Regions from separate parts of the Homo sapiens genome. Here region 1 is linked to region 2. The links are contacts of gene promoters, found by promoter capture Hi-C in blood cells and fetal thymus (Javierre and others, 2016). All regions are on one chromosome and are shown on one strand. The core of a region is centred on a gene start or on the middle of the fragment in contact, and the rest is flanking DNA. Distances in the headings are between cores, read along the strand shown.

Region 1 (6,031 bases), core at 3,386-5,885, 2.3 Mb before region 2:
TTCTAGGCATATTTATACATATCTTTTAAATAAAAATGGAGTCACACAAGCTGTATTGTAAATCGCTTTTTTCATTAAAAACGTAACCTGAGGCCGGACACGGTGGCTCATGCCTGGAATCCCAGCACTTTGGGAGGCAGAGGTGGGTGGATCACTCGAGGTCAAAAGCTGGAGACCAGCCAGGCCAACATGGTGAAACCTCGTCTCTACTCAAAATACAAAAATTAGCTGGGCGTGGTGGCACGAGCCTGTAGTCCCAGCTACTCAGGAGGCTGAGGCAGGAGAATCGCTTGAAACCAGGAGGTGGAGGTTGCAGTTAGCCGAGATTGTGCCACTGCACTCCAGCCTGGGTGACAGAGTGAGACTCCGTCTCAAAAAAAAAAAAAAAAAAAGTAACCTGAACGTATTTCCAGCTCTAGGTACTTATTTTTAATGCTACATGGTAGTCTATTATGTGGTTATACTATAACTAATTGTTGTTGGATGGTTATTTTTTCTGATTTGTCAATATTTCGATGTTATAAACCACACTGTAATTAGCATCTTTGCACATTCATTACATACATATTTGCAAATTTGTCCACTTCTTTCCTTAAAATAAATTTCTGTACCTGGACATGTTTGTCAAATACTATGAATATGAGTCTTTTGAAACACATTACCAAATTGCCTTAAGAAAACTGGGAGTGGTGGCTCATGCCTGTAATCCCAGCACTTTGGGAGGCTGAGGTGGGCGGATCACAAGGTCAAGAGATCGAGACCATCCTATCCAACATGGCGAAAATCCGTCTCTAATAAAACTACAAAAATTAGCTGGGTGTGGTGGCGCACGCCTGTAATCCCAGCTACTCGGGGGGCTGAGGCAGGAGAATTGCTTGCACCCAGGAGGTGGAGGTTGCGGTGAGCCGACATTGCGCCACTGCACTCCAGCCTGGTGACAGAGTGAGACTCTGTCTCAAAAAAAAAAAAAAAAAGAAAACTGATATCAATTTGTCCCACTGGCAATACAAATGTGCCCATTTCATAGGATCTTCATCAACAATTAATATTATCGATTTTTTATCCTTGACATTCTAACAGGCAAAAAAAGGAACTTTTTAAAAAATTTTTTAGTTCATAAAATTTTTCTGTTTTGTTTTTTTGAGACAGAGTTTCACTCTTGTTGCCCAGGCTGGAGTGCAATGTCGCAATCTCGGCTCACTGCAACCTCTGCCTCCCGGTTCAAGCGATTCTCCTGCCTCAGCCTCCCGAGTAGCTGGGATTATAGGTGCCCACCACCACGCCCAACTAATTTTTTTTCTGAAGTTTTAGTAGATACGGGGTTTCACCATGTTGGCCAGGCTGGTCTCAAACTCCTGACCTCAGGCAATCCACCCGCCTCAGCCTCCCAAAGTGCTGGGATTACAGGCGTGAGCCACCGAACCCAGCTATTGTTTTTTAATTATTATGGATACATAATAGTTGTACCTCATTGTTTTTATTTTTGATTAATTACTAGTGAGGCTGAATATATTTTCAAGTACAAGGTTATTTACTAACAAGAAAAAAAGAATATATTGTCATATGCTTATCAGCCACGTGTTTTATCCTTTTATGAATTATCCATTCATGTTCCTTGCACATTTTGAAATGGAGGTATTTATCTCTTTTTTTTTTTTTTTTTTTTTTGAGATGCAGTCTTGCTGTTACCCAGGCTGGAGTGCAGTGGCATGATCTCGGCTCACTCCAACCTCTGCCTCCCGGGTTCAATCAATTCCTTTTCCTCAGCCTCCCAAGTAGCTGGGACTACAGGAGTGAGTACGCCACCACGCCCAGCTAATTTTTGTATTTTTTTTAGTAGAGACGGGGTTTCACCATATTGGCCAGGCTGGTCTTGATCTCCTGACCTTGTGATCCGCCTGCCTTGGCCTCCCAAAGTGCTGGGATTACAGGTGTGAGCCCCTGCGCCCGGCCGGTATTTATCTTTTTAAAAATCAATGTTTAACAACTCTTTATAGGCTGATATTAGCCATATGTGTTTATCACATATGTAACATTTTTGCTAGTGTTTCGTCTTTTTATTAAGTAAAGATATTACCCCTTGGCTCTAATATGTCATTATGAAATGATTTTTTTCAATTTATCATTTGTCTTTTAACTTTACCAACCTTGTATTTTGACATTTAGAAGGTTTACTTTTATTTATGAAGTTGTACTTATTAGTCTTTCCCATTATGGATTTTGTGTTGTATTTCAAAAGTGCTTCTGCATCCCCAAGGCTATAGAAATATTAACCTAGGCCTGGACAGTGGCTCACGCCTGTAATCCCAACACTTTGGGAGGCCCAGGCAGGCGGATCATGAAGTCAGGAGTTGGAGACCAGGCTGCCCAACATGGTGAAACCTCATCTCTACTAAAAATACAAAAATTAGCCAGGCGTGGTGGTGCATGCCTGCAATCCCAGCTACTGGGGAGGCTGAGGTAGGAGAATCGCTTGAACCCAGGAGACGGAGGTTGCAGTGAGCTGAGATCATGCCACTGGACTCCAGCCTGGGCAACAAAGCAAGACTCCATCAAAAAAAAAAAAGAAAGAAAGAAGGAAGGAAGGAAGGAAGGAAGGAAGGAAGGAAGGAAGGAAGGAAGGAAGAAAGGACAGAAATAGTAACCTGTATTTTCTTCCACTTCTTTTATGATTTTATATTTTAGATTAAGCCACATAAGCCTCAAGAATACGTTAAGGAGTGGCTAATGTTATTGCCATAATCAGAATATCAGGCTTAATGGCAATTGCAGGCTACTGAAGAATTCCTTTTACACGTTCTAGGTAATCGTTCTAGTACATGATTATGTAAAATAAGACAAAAACCTGAGTAGAGACACAGCGCCTAAATCATGTATCCCTCTGCCAAAAATGACAATATCAATGAGTCTTCTAGGGAGTTGGGCAGGTAAGTATGAGGGATATTGTTTTAACTGCTTGGAGTGAAATACTTATATTCCAGGCTGATATAACATCCATCATGGTGAGGGGGTAATTCTCCCAAAGTATTTTGAGGGCTTACTATGTGGTCGCTGGGGACACAACAGTGAACAAAACAGAGAGGTTTACTGCTCAGAAAGGGTGAAGTAAACAAACAAATAAATAACTTACTTTCAGATTAAGTGTTTTACAAGAAAAGTAAGCAGGTAAGGAGATGGGAGAAGTCGTTATTACTTTTTTCTTTTTTTTTTTTTCCTCAGACCTTTTTCCGCCTTCAGGAAGAAGTTATTTTAGGTAGGGTGGTCAGGGAAGGCTTCTCTAGGAAGTTAATAATTGCGAGGCTTGGATGATGAAAGCAAAGATATGAAAGTAAAATATTCCAGCAAAGGTAAAGTAGTTGAAGTAGGAAGAAGTTAGCTTTGTTGGAAAAACCGTAACAAAGCCAGCATAGCTGGCATGCTATTGGAAAACAGAAAAATTGGGAAAAGGAAAAGAATCTAAAAACTTGGGTAAGGTTTTCCTTTAACTGTGACAATGGGAGTGGCATGCTGTGTGGCGAGTTCCCTCAATTCTTTCAGGCATTACTACCTAAGAAAGGCCTTCTTTAACTGCCCTTTTACAAATCCCAACGTTATCAGATTTTCCCACCCTTTTACAATCACCGCCCTTTTTCGAATACTTTAGAGTTAATGCCTCAAAGTTATCAGTCTTTTAAACATCACGAATCCGTTTGTCCCTACAAGGAACTCTTCTGTCCCCCTTCCTTGATTTTTCTCCTTGGCATTTATCACTAACATGATATGTATTTATGTTTGATTTTTTCTAAATTATTGTCCCTGGCCCCTATAAAGACTCAAGAGAACTGGGATTTTGATCTGTTTTCTTTTTTTTTTTTTTTTTTTTTTTGAGACACAGCCTTGCTCTGTCACCCAGGCTAGAGTGCAGTGGCGAGATCCCGGCTCACTGCAATCTTCGCCTCCTGGGTTCAGCTATTCTCCTGCCTCAGCCTCCCGATTAGCAGAGATTACAGGCGCCCGCCACCACGCCCGGCTAATTTTCGTATTTTTAGTAGAGACTGGGTTTCACCATGTTGGCCAGGCTGGTCTCGAACTCCTGACCTCAGGTGATCCGCCCGCTTCGGCTTCCCAAAGTGCTGGGATTACAGGCGTGAGCCACCGAACGTGGCCTGTTTTCTTTCTTAATTTTGGTCTATTTTAATTTCCTAAGCAGCTACAATGGTGCTTGACATGCAGTTGGCACTGTGTAAATACATGTTGAATAAAACGCAGGCTACTTTTTGAACTGGTCTGCACGGATTGTGTGAACTGATGTGATGTCAGGGTAGACTAATATCACATTTCTCTCTCTCTGAAAATGTCTTCAAGCAGTCAGACCGTGACGTCCTTCAGTTTTCAAAATGGGAAAGCGAAGGTTCCCACAATTCTCAGAACGCAAATTTCTCGCCACAATTCAAAATGGCGGAGGAGGGTGGGGCCTGTCACATGGTGGGCGTCATAACAGCTTTCCTTTTCCAAACCGCCGCCCGCCTTGCCGCGTCGTCTGCCGTCCCCCTCCTCCTCCCGCGGAGCCTTTTCGAGGAATCGACTGGGATTGGCTAATAGGCTGGGAGTGGGGCTGCGGTGCCGGGACGCGGCATCATCACTTCCTGTTGTGGGCAGTCGTTTCCTGTCGCTGCTTGGTAACAATGGGGAAGATAATGGCTGCCTGAGCAACGTCTCCGAGCAGGCGCTGGGCTAGAGGCGGGTCTCAACCAGCTACTCATTGGAGGCGGGCTTGAGAGCGGCGGCCAGGGAGGTGCGGAGCAGCCTCGGCGGCGGCGGCCGAACCAACCGAGTCGGATCCTGACCCTAAAACCTAGTAAGTGAAGACTTGGGAATCCTGTGAGAAATGATGTAGAGCGAGAGGAAGACAGCGGAGCCGCGGCTGCCGCGTTCTCTCAAAATGGCCCGAGTGACGCGTCGTGGCAGAGGCTCAGCGCCGCCTCCGGACCCCAGGCCCGTTGCTGCGGGGGGCTCCGTGGCGTAGTCGCCGCTGCCATTTTAGTTGAGTGGTATAGTCGACAGGCTCTTTGAAGGGGAAGGAGGTGGGTAGTACTTCCTCTCGGTGGCCGCGCGAGCTGCAGCCCAGGCCCTCCGGAGCCTTAGGAAATCGGGGGAGGCAGTTTTTGAGTTTTGGCCTCAGGCGTCAGAATCTTAGAACGTCTCAGGCTTTTTCTTCTCTGTTCTCTGGAGGCTTCCCTGACCTCCCCGCGTTTTCCATGGCGGGCTTGGGTTTGGGAAAAGGGAAGTAAAAAATCAGGCTGCCCCAAGTGAGATGCTGGCAACTCTTGGGCCTTTAGATTTCCAAAACCTCATTTTGAGCCCTTCTGCAGGGTATTACCAATTAGGCGCCCCCTGGGGCCGCGATGACATCTTCCCTGAGGATCTGAGGCAAATGTGGTTTACTCCCTTGCTCGAATAACCCTGGCATATCCTTTGCCAGGTATCACTGGAAGGATCCCCCCGCAAAAGAGAGGGAAAAGCCGTTAGGTGTTTGTTGTGTTCTCCTGGATAAGGGATGGAATTGGGCCAAATTTTCAAGTTAATTTGTGTTTAATCCACCAACAACTCAATCCCTCCCCCATTAAAAAAAAAAAAAAAAGCCTAGGGGGGTCTCTGCTTCTGCAGACGGTACCTGCCACGCATGCCATAGCTTAGTAACTAGTATTAACCGGTTGGGCTTCTGCTTCCTGAATACTCGGTCCCTTTTTCCCTTATGCTGATTAATTTCAAGATGGAGGAGACAGCCACGTTCCTTCCCTAGACAGTTTCACCATACTTATTCCACAGGTTAGTCTGGGAATCTGAGGCCTAGCAGTCTTGTTATTGAGGTCATTTTTTTTTTCATTTTGGGGCAAGAGGAAGCAGTTGTATCAGATTGTCATCTTCCATTTGCAAGACCCCACAATGATTTTTTGCCAGAAGTAAGGAGCCCGCATTTCCTGAATCAGAATTAACCGCAGTGTTTTGGACTGATTGAAAGGGGGAAGAAATAATAAACCTACTGCTACTA
Region 2 (6,061 bases), core at 1,717-4,216:
CCCTCCCCACCCCCGCAGCCTGCTTCTCATATTATTATTTGTTCCTTGAGAGCAAGAACTAGATCTTAATAATCTCTGCATCCTCAGTTCATAATGCAGAGCTTGACACAGAGTAAGCACTCAATAAGTGTTGGTTGAAGGAATAGATTTATTCTAAGGAAAATATTCAACTGAAGGAAAAAGCTGTTCACTGTAGCAACACGCATAATAGAGAAAAAGTACAGAAAACTAAATGTCCAACAACAGAGAACTTGTATTAATTGTGGGACATCCACTTAATGGAATATGATACAGCTGTTAAAGTAGTAATTATGAGGATTATGCAGCAACTTGGAAAGTGTTTCTAATATAATAAAAACAGAATACAAAATGGTCTGTATGCTAGGACTAAAATTATGTAAAAGTATGCATGCACACAAGCCGATCAGAAAGAGAACAGGAAGAGGAACAAATGAATACAGATGATGTGTTTAGGGTGTTTGGGGAGGTACTGTTTGCGATTTACTTAGCTCTTTCCAAATTTCCTTTATTGTTGTTAGAATGTCATTTGTGCATAAATACAAATTGAGAGAGAGAAATATACTGAAAAAGATGCTTTGATTTCCTCAAGTCCTTTGATAACCTATGGCATAAAAACAAACCACTCACCTGGGAGGCAAGAGACAAGTCCCCTCATCCCCAAACGGGCTGTGTGATCTTGATTAAGTGAGATCTGCAGCTCTAACCAGCCATTTCTCCTATCCTCTCTAGCTGGAAAGCACATGGTTATCCCCCCACTCCCACAGCAACTTCTCCACCATTTCTGTTAATTGTACCACCATCTTCCCAGTGCTCTCAGATTAAAAACCTCAGAACCAACTTCCATTATCTCATCACCTTCACCTTCTCTCTACTCCTCACCTCCAATTAATCGATCCTTTCCAATAATCACTTATAACATGCTTTATTGTGGATTGTATCCCAGTTTTAGACAAGGAGGAGTTCCTGCCCTCTTAGTTAATACTGTCTGCTTGGTTAATACTGTCTGCTTGAGAAGAGCCAACAATGTTTCCCTCTCTTGCTCCTCTGCAGACTGCTGAGGGGTAAAGTGGATGGTACAGATAGAGACTTGTGAAATGGAACCTCATGAGTTAGGAGCTTGATCTCATGGTGGGAAGAATTCAGGCACAGGCTGGATGCTCTCAGGGATAGTACAGTAGGACTTGGCACAATAAGTGGGATGCTGACTCCGTTTATTCATTCAACAAGTATTTATCAAGTGCTGGACACAGTGCCGAGCTCTCTGTTCAGTGGCAAGGGGCCTGCCCAGATGAATTAGGGCAGGCTCCATCCTGGAGGTGCTCAGTTTGGTGGAGGCCAGGTAACTAAATTTGTCCTTGCTACCTAATGTGCTGTGTGCCCTCACCAAGTTTGAACACAAGCCTCTGGGGCAAGAATGAGGGATTTACCCTGACTGAGGGGACCACGAGCCCACAGAACCAGAGGGACTTGAACTGTGCATTTCCAAGGCTGAGGTGTGGGATTAGGTGGTACCCAGGAAGGGGGTTTGGCTGTTTGTGGCAGTTCCAAGCTAAGGAATCGAGTCCACAAGCAGTCTTGAAAGAGCTGACTCTAGCCAGGCGCAGTGGCTCAGGCCTGTAATCCCAGCACTTTGGGAGGTCGAGGCGGGCGGATCGCTTGAGTCCAGGAGTTTGAGACCAGCCTAGGTAACATGGCGAAACCCCGTCTCTACAAAAAAATAAAACTACAAAAAATTAGTTGGGTGCAGTGGCGTGCGCCTGTTGTCCCAGCTACTCGTGGGGGCTGAAGTGAGAGGATCGCTTGAGCCCGGGCTGTCTGTCGAGGCTGCAGTGAGCCATGCACTACAGCCTGGGTGACAGAGTGAGACCCTGTCTCCCAAACAAACAAACAAAAAGAGCTGACTCCCTCGGAACAAACTAGCTTGGTGGGGCTTGAGCTTTGAAGTTTGGGATTGGGGAGAGAGAGCAATGGAGCCAGATAAAGTTCAGACCTGCTCCCTTACGGCAGGAAACAGAGGGCCAAGGGCAGTTTCGAAGCAGGATCAGATCTACATTTTAGTTAGATATAACCAGACGATTTCTAATATCCTCTCTCCTCCCTGAGTCTCTATAAGTGCCAAATGCGTTGTACAGGAAGCAAGGGGGAGGATGTCAGAGTTCAAGCAGAGAAGCAAGAGGGGGTTAAAAACGTTGTTGGCTCTTCCCAACTCAGTATGGGCTGCCTGGCTGGCTCAAGGGAACACAAAAAAGGGACAGACAAAATACGTTTAAGAAATAACATTAAATATTTATTAAAATGTATTCTATTGATTATATACAAGTTCTTTGTTTTGTTTTGTTTTGTTTTGTTTTTGAGACGGAGTCTCGCTCTGTCGCCCAGGCTGGAGTGCAGTGGCGCGATCTCGGCTCACTGCAAGCTCCACCTCCGGGGTTCACGCCATTCTCCTGCCTCAGCTTCCCGAGTAGCTGGGACTACAGGCGCCCGCCACTATGCCCGGCTAATTTTTTTGTATTTTTTTTTAGTATAGACGGGGTTTCACTGTGTTAGCCAGGATGGTCTCGATCTCCTGACCTCATGATCCGCCCGCCTCGGCCTCCCAAAGTGCTGGGATTACAGGCGTAGAATCATCTGTACGTGAGACTGGAAGTAAGCTCACTTTGAACTCTCCTTGAGGCCAGGGATGTTGTGTAGCTCATCTTTGTATTCCCAGCACCTAGCACAGAATAAGGCACACAAGAGGCGCTCAGCAAATATGGGAGGAGGAAGGGCGGAAAAAGGGGAGGGAGGAAATCGCCCTTAGGAGACACCCTCTTTCCGCGGCGGTTCCTCAACTCGGGACTTCTGACCTCCCACCAGCAGATGGCAAGAAAGAGTCCCGGCGCGCCAGCAAAGGGCTGAGCTGGGCGGAGCAGCTGAAAATCCGGCGCGCGCAGTCTCCAGCCCCAATTTCTACGCGCACCGGAAGACGGAGGTCCTCTTTCCTTGCCTAACGCAGCCATGGTAAGCCGTTTAGTTAGCGAGCTCTTAGGACGTATCCGCCTCCATCCTCCCCCGGCCGGGGCTGCCCGAGGTTTCGGGATTCCTACTGGGGATGGCCGGGCAGAGGCGAAGGGATCACGGCCTCCGTGGTAGGCCGGGACGGGCTCCAGGGCGAAGGGCGAACGCTGGCCTAGGGTTGGGGAGGCGCAGATCTGGTGCTGCTGTTGGGAAGGCCTCGGTTTCTGACCCGGCCATACGTCCTGATCCCGGGAGAAGCTGCTTTTCCTCCCGGGCCGGAGCCGCGGCTGGGCCAGGAGCTCAGACTGCGAGCCCGAGGTTGGTGGGCGCTGGGGGTGCCCGGCGGAGAAAGGTTTTCTTTGTCATTGCCTTTTTGGCACGGCCTGACTTTACCATACGTGGCCGGTAAGCATCTGGACACAGCATTAAAAAGGCTTCCTTACTCTTTTTAAAGTAAAATTGGTGTCAGCTTTTGGCTTTAGTGTACGAAGGAGCAGCACATGTGTTTGTGCGGATGTCAGAATCTTGTTCCATACGTGTCAAAAACAGACGGTAATAAATTGTGAAAACTTTAGAAACACAGGTAGACTCCTGGCTCATTTCTGTTGCTGTGCGTTTCACTAGTATGGTGTTCTTGAAAGACCCTAACCTCTAAGCAGATACAGTTTCAAACAGTAACATGGAAACACTTTAGCAAGGTTCTGAAAGATAGTAATCAGTAAACGTTCTGAAACATAGTAACCAAGAATATTCTCTGTTACAATAAGAAGGCTTGTTGCAGCTTATGGATCTCACGGTGTTTGTTAAATAACTGTGTTTGTTTCTGTTTTATCGGAACACTATACTTTAATATTGTCCACATTTTGCTGAAGATGAAACTAAACTAAGAGTTTAGTTTCACACTAGGTTTTATAAGCTGTTCTGAAACCTGATTAACAGCATTGCAATCTAAAACTTTCAGGCTCGTGGTCCCAAGAAGCATCTGAAGCGGGTGGCAGCTCCAAAGCATTGGATGCTGGATAAATTGACCGGTGTGTTTGTAAGTATCTTATATAAATATTTCCGTGGCCACTGTTTTTAAGTGTCTCCCAGGACTCATTTGGGGACCAGGCTAGGGGAGGAATATCTATTCTTGGCTTCCTCTGCCCTTGAAGGAGCTATACTATCTAGCTGTCCTCCACTTCCAATCGATTTAATATTTTTGTGCCTCATTTATTCCACATACCACATAGTACATTTACATGGACTCAGGATTCATGTTCTTAATGATCCTGGTCCTCTGACAGGGAAGATGCTATAAAACTTTAAGGTATGAAATAGTTTTGGATGCTTTTTACACCTCCTGTGTAAAAGTCCAAGTTGGGTGTAATATGGACGGTCTTGGTGTTCAGTTAGTGGATCTGGTGGACTAGGAGGTAGGTTTGAGTGCTTTAGTGAATCCCAACAGTGATTATCATTTTTAACGTTACAGGCTCCTCGTCCATCCACCGGTCCCCACAAGTTGAGAGAGTGTCTCCCCCTCATCATTTTCCTGAGGAACAGACTTAAGTATGCCCTGACAGGAGATGAAGTAAAGAAGATTTGCATGCAGCGGTTCATTAAAATCGATGGCAAGGTCCGAACTGATATAACCTACCCTGCTGGATTCATGGGTAAGAAGTTTTAAATACTCTGGAGACGCATATTGATGGCAGCCCTATGGTATCCAAATACTGTCTTGATCATTTTTCTAACCTTTGTAATCTGTCAAGTCTCAGAAACAAAGCCTGACCTTCCCTCTGTTTTTTACTTAAATAAAAAACATGCAAATAATCATGAAACGCTTTTCAAAACTAAATTTCGATTCACTTTTAAATTTTACATGCAGTCATGGGGTTTTGAAATATTGAAGATCTGGCCGTGATCTTTAATCTTCAGAATCCTTGTTGGATTAGAACTGGGAGGCACATGGGGGTTCTTTTTGTTTCGTAGAGAGCTATGGTTGTTGCTCGGCATGAGGTAGTGGGGATCACTGTATGTAGTAACCGGTTACTGCTTGATTTCAGATGTCATCAGCATTGACAAGACGGGAGAGAATTTCCGTCTGATCTATGACACCAAGGGTCGCTTTGCTGTACATCGTATTACACCTGAGGAGGCCAAGGTGAGTGTGGCAAGCAAGCTGGGTCTTTACTCAGTATAGTTACTTTGTTCTAAGGGCCTGCATTGAGTACGAGTGCTGCTTGCAATGAGGTGGGTATTGATTAGTTAAAATCTCATACCTGGAAATATCTAGCTAACAATTCGATGAGATTCTGTCTTACATGTAACTTTTTGTCATGTTATTAAAAGTCTGGCTGATAGCTGTAGGGCATTGATGGATACCTAAAATTGGCCCCCATTTGAAGTTAACTTCCTCAGCAGATTTTCTTTTTTTGTGGTAGAAATGAATTCCAGTTGAACCGCGACTTCCTGGTGTCTCTTAAGAGTCAAGGAGAATGATTTCTGGGAACTTGTTTATTGGGTACCTGACGTAGGAGCCCTTTGCCATGTCTCCATTTGTGGGAGTAGCTTTACTTTGGGGAGGGGAAGGTGTCGATGGAGGAAACAGACAGTCCTTGAGGCACTAGTTTGAGGTTTAAAAAAAGATTACAGTCTTTGATTATTTAATCCAGTTTGTTTTGATGGTTTTACACAAAAGTTTAGGGCTGTTTGGATTATTGGCTGTAAATGAAGGTTAATTTAATTGACTGATGTGGCTCCTAATTTCCTTTTGCACAGCCTTGTTAACAGCAGACTGGAGGGCACGTCCAGTGGGATCTGTGATTATTTGATTTACTTCAAGGATATCAGGGAGTAGAGATCCAAAATTGAAATGCTATGTGAAGTATTTGTTGATTGGATGAACTGGTAATGTAATTGCTGTTTGTGAGACAAAACTCAGTCGTGATGTACAGGGAGCCATTAAGATAAAGTTGAGTTGAAGGGAAGAATTCCCAGGGCCCCATAAGGCTTAAAGAGCCTGGGAAACTGGAGTGGCATTTACATTGGAGGAGTGGAGGGC

Evidence for each region. Contacts are between HindIII fragments. The CHiCAGO score rates a contact against its expected background, and 5 or more counts as called.
Region 1: the fragment with the promoter of RLIM here is called in contact with the fragment with the promoter of RPS4X in region 2 in 1 of 17 cell types (total CD4 T cells); the score reaches 7.1 in total CD4 T cells.

The regions. Positions count from the first base shown.
Region 1 is chrX:74,613,228-74,619,258 of GRCh38, reverse strand. It overlaps RLIM (ring finger protein, LIM domain interacting), which reads left to right and starts at 4,635. Exons shown (of 4, transcript NM_016120.4): 1 at 4,635-4,837. RefSeq lists an enhancer at 4,711-5,030. The HindIII fragment of the contact is 9,843 bases long and covers 1-6,031 here.
Region 2 is chrX:72,274,153-72,280,213 of GRCh38, reverse strand. RPS4X (ribosomal protein S4 X-linked) reads left to right here and starts at 2,966. Exons shown (of 7, transcript NM_001007.5): 1 at 2,966-3,021; 2 at 3,980-4,057; 3 at 4,490-4,670; 4 at 5,064-5,161. The coding sequence starts at 3,019. RefSeq lists enhancers at 3,147-3,216, 3,387-3,466. The HindIII fragment of the contact is 11,342 bases long and covers 1-6,061 here.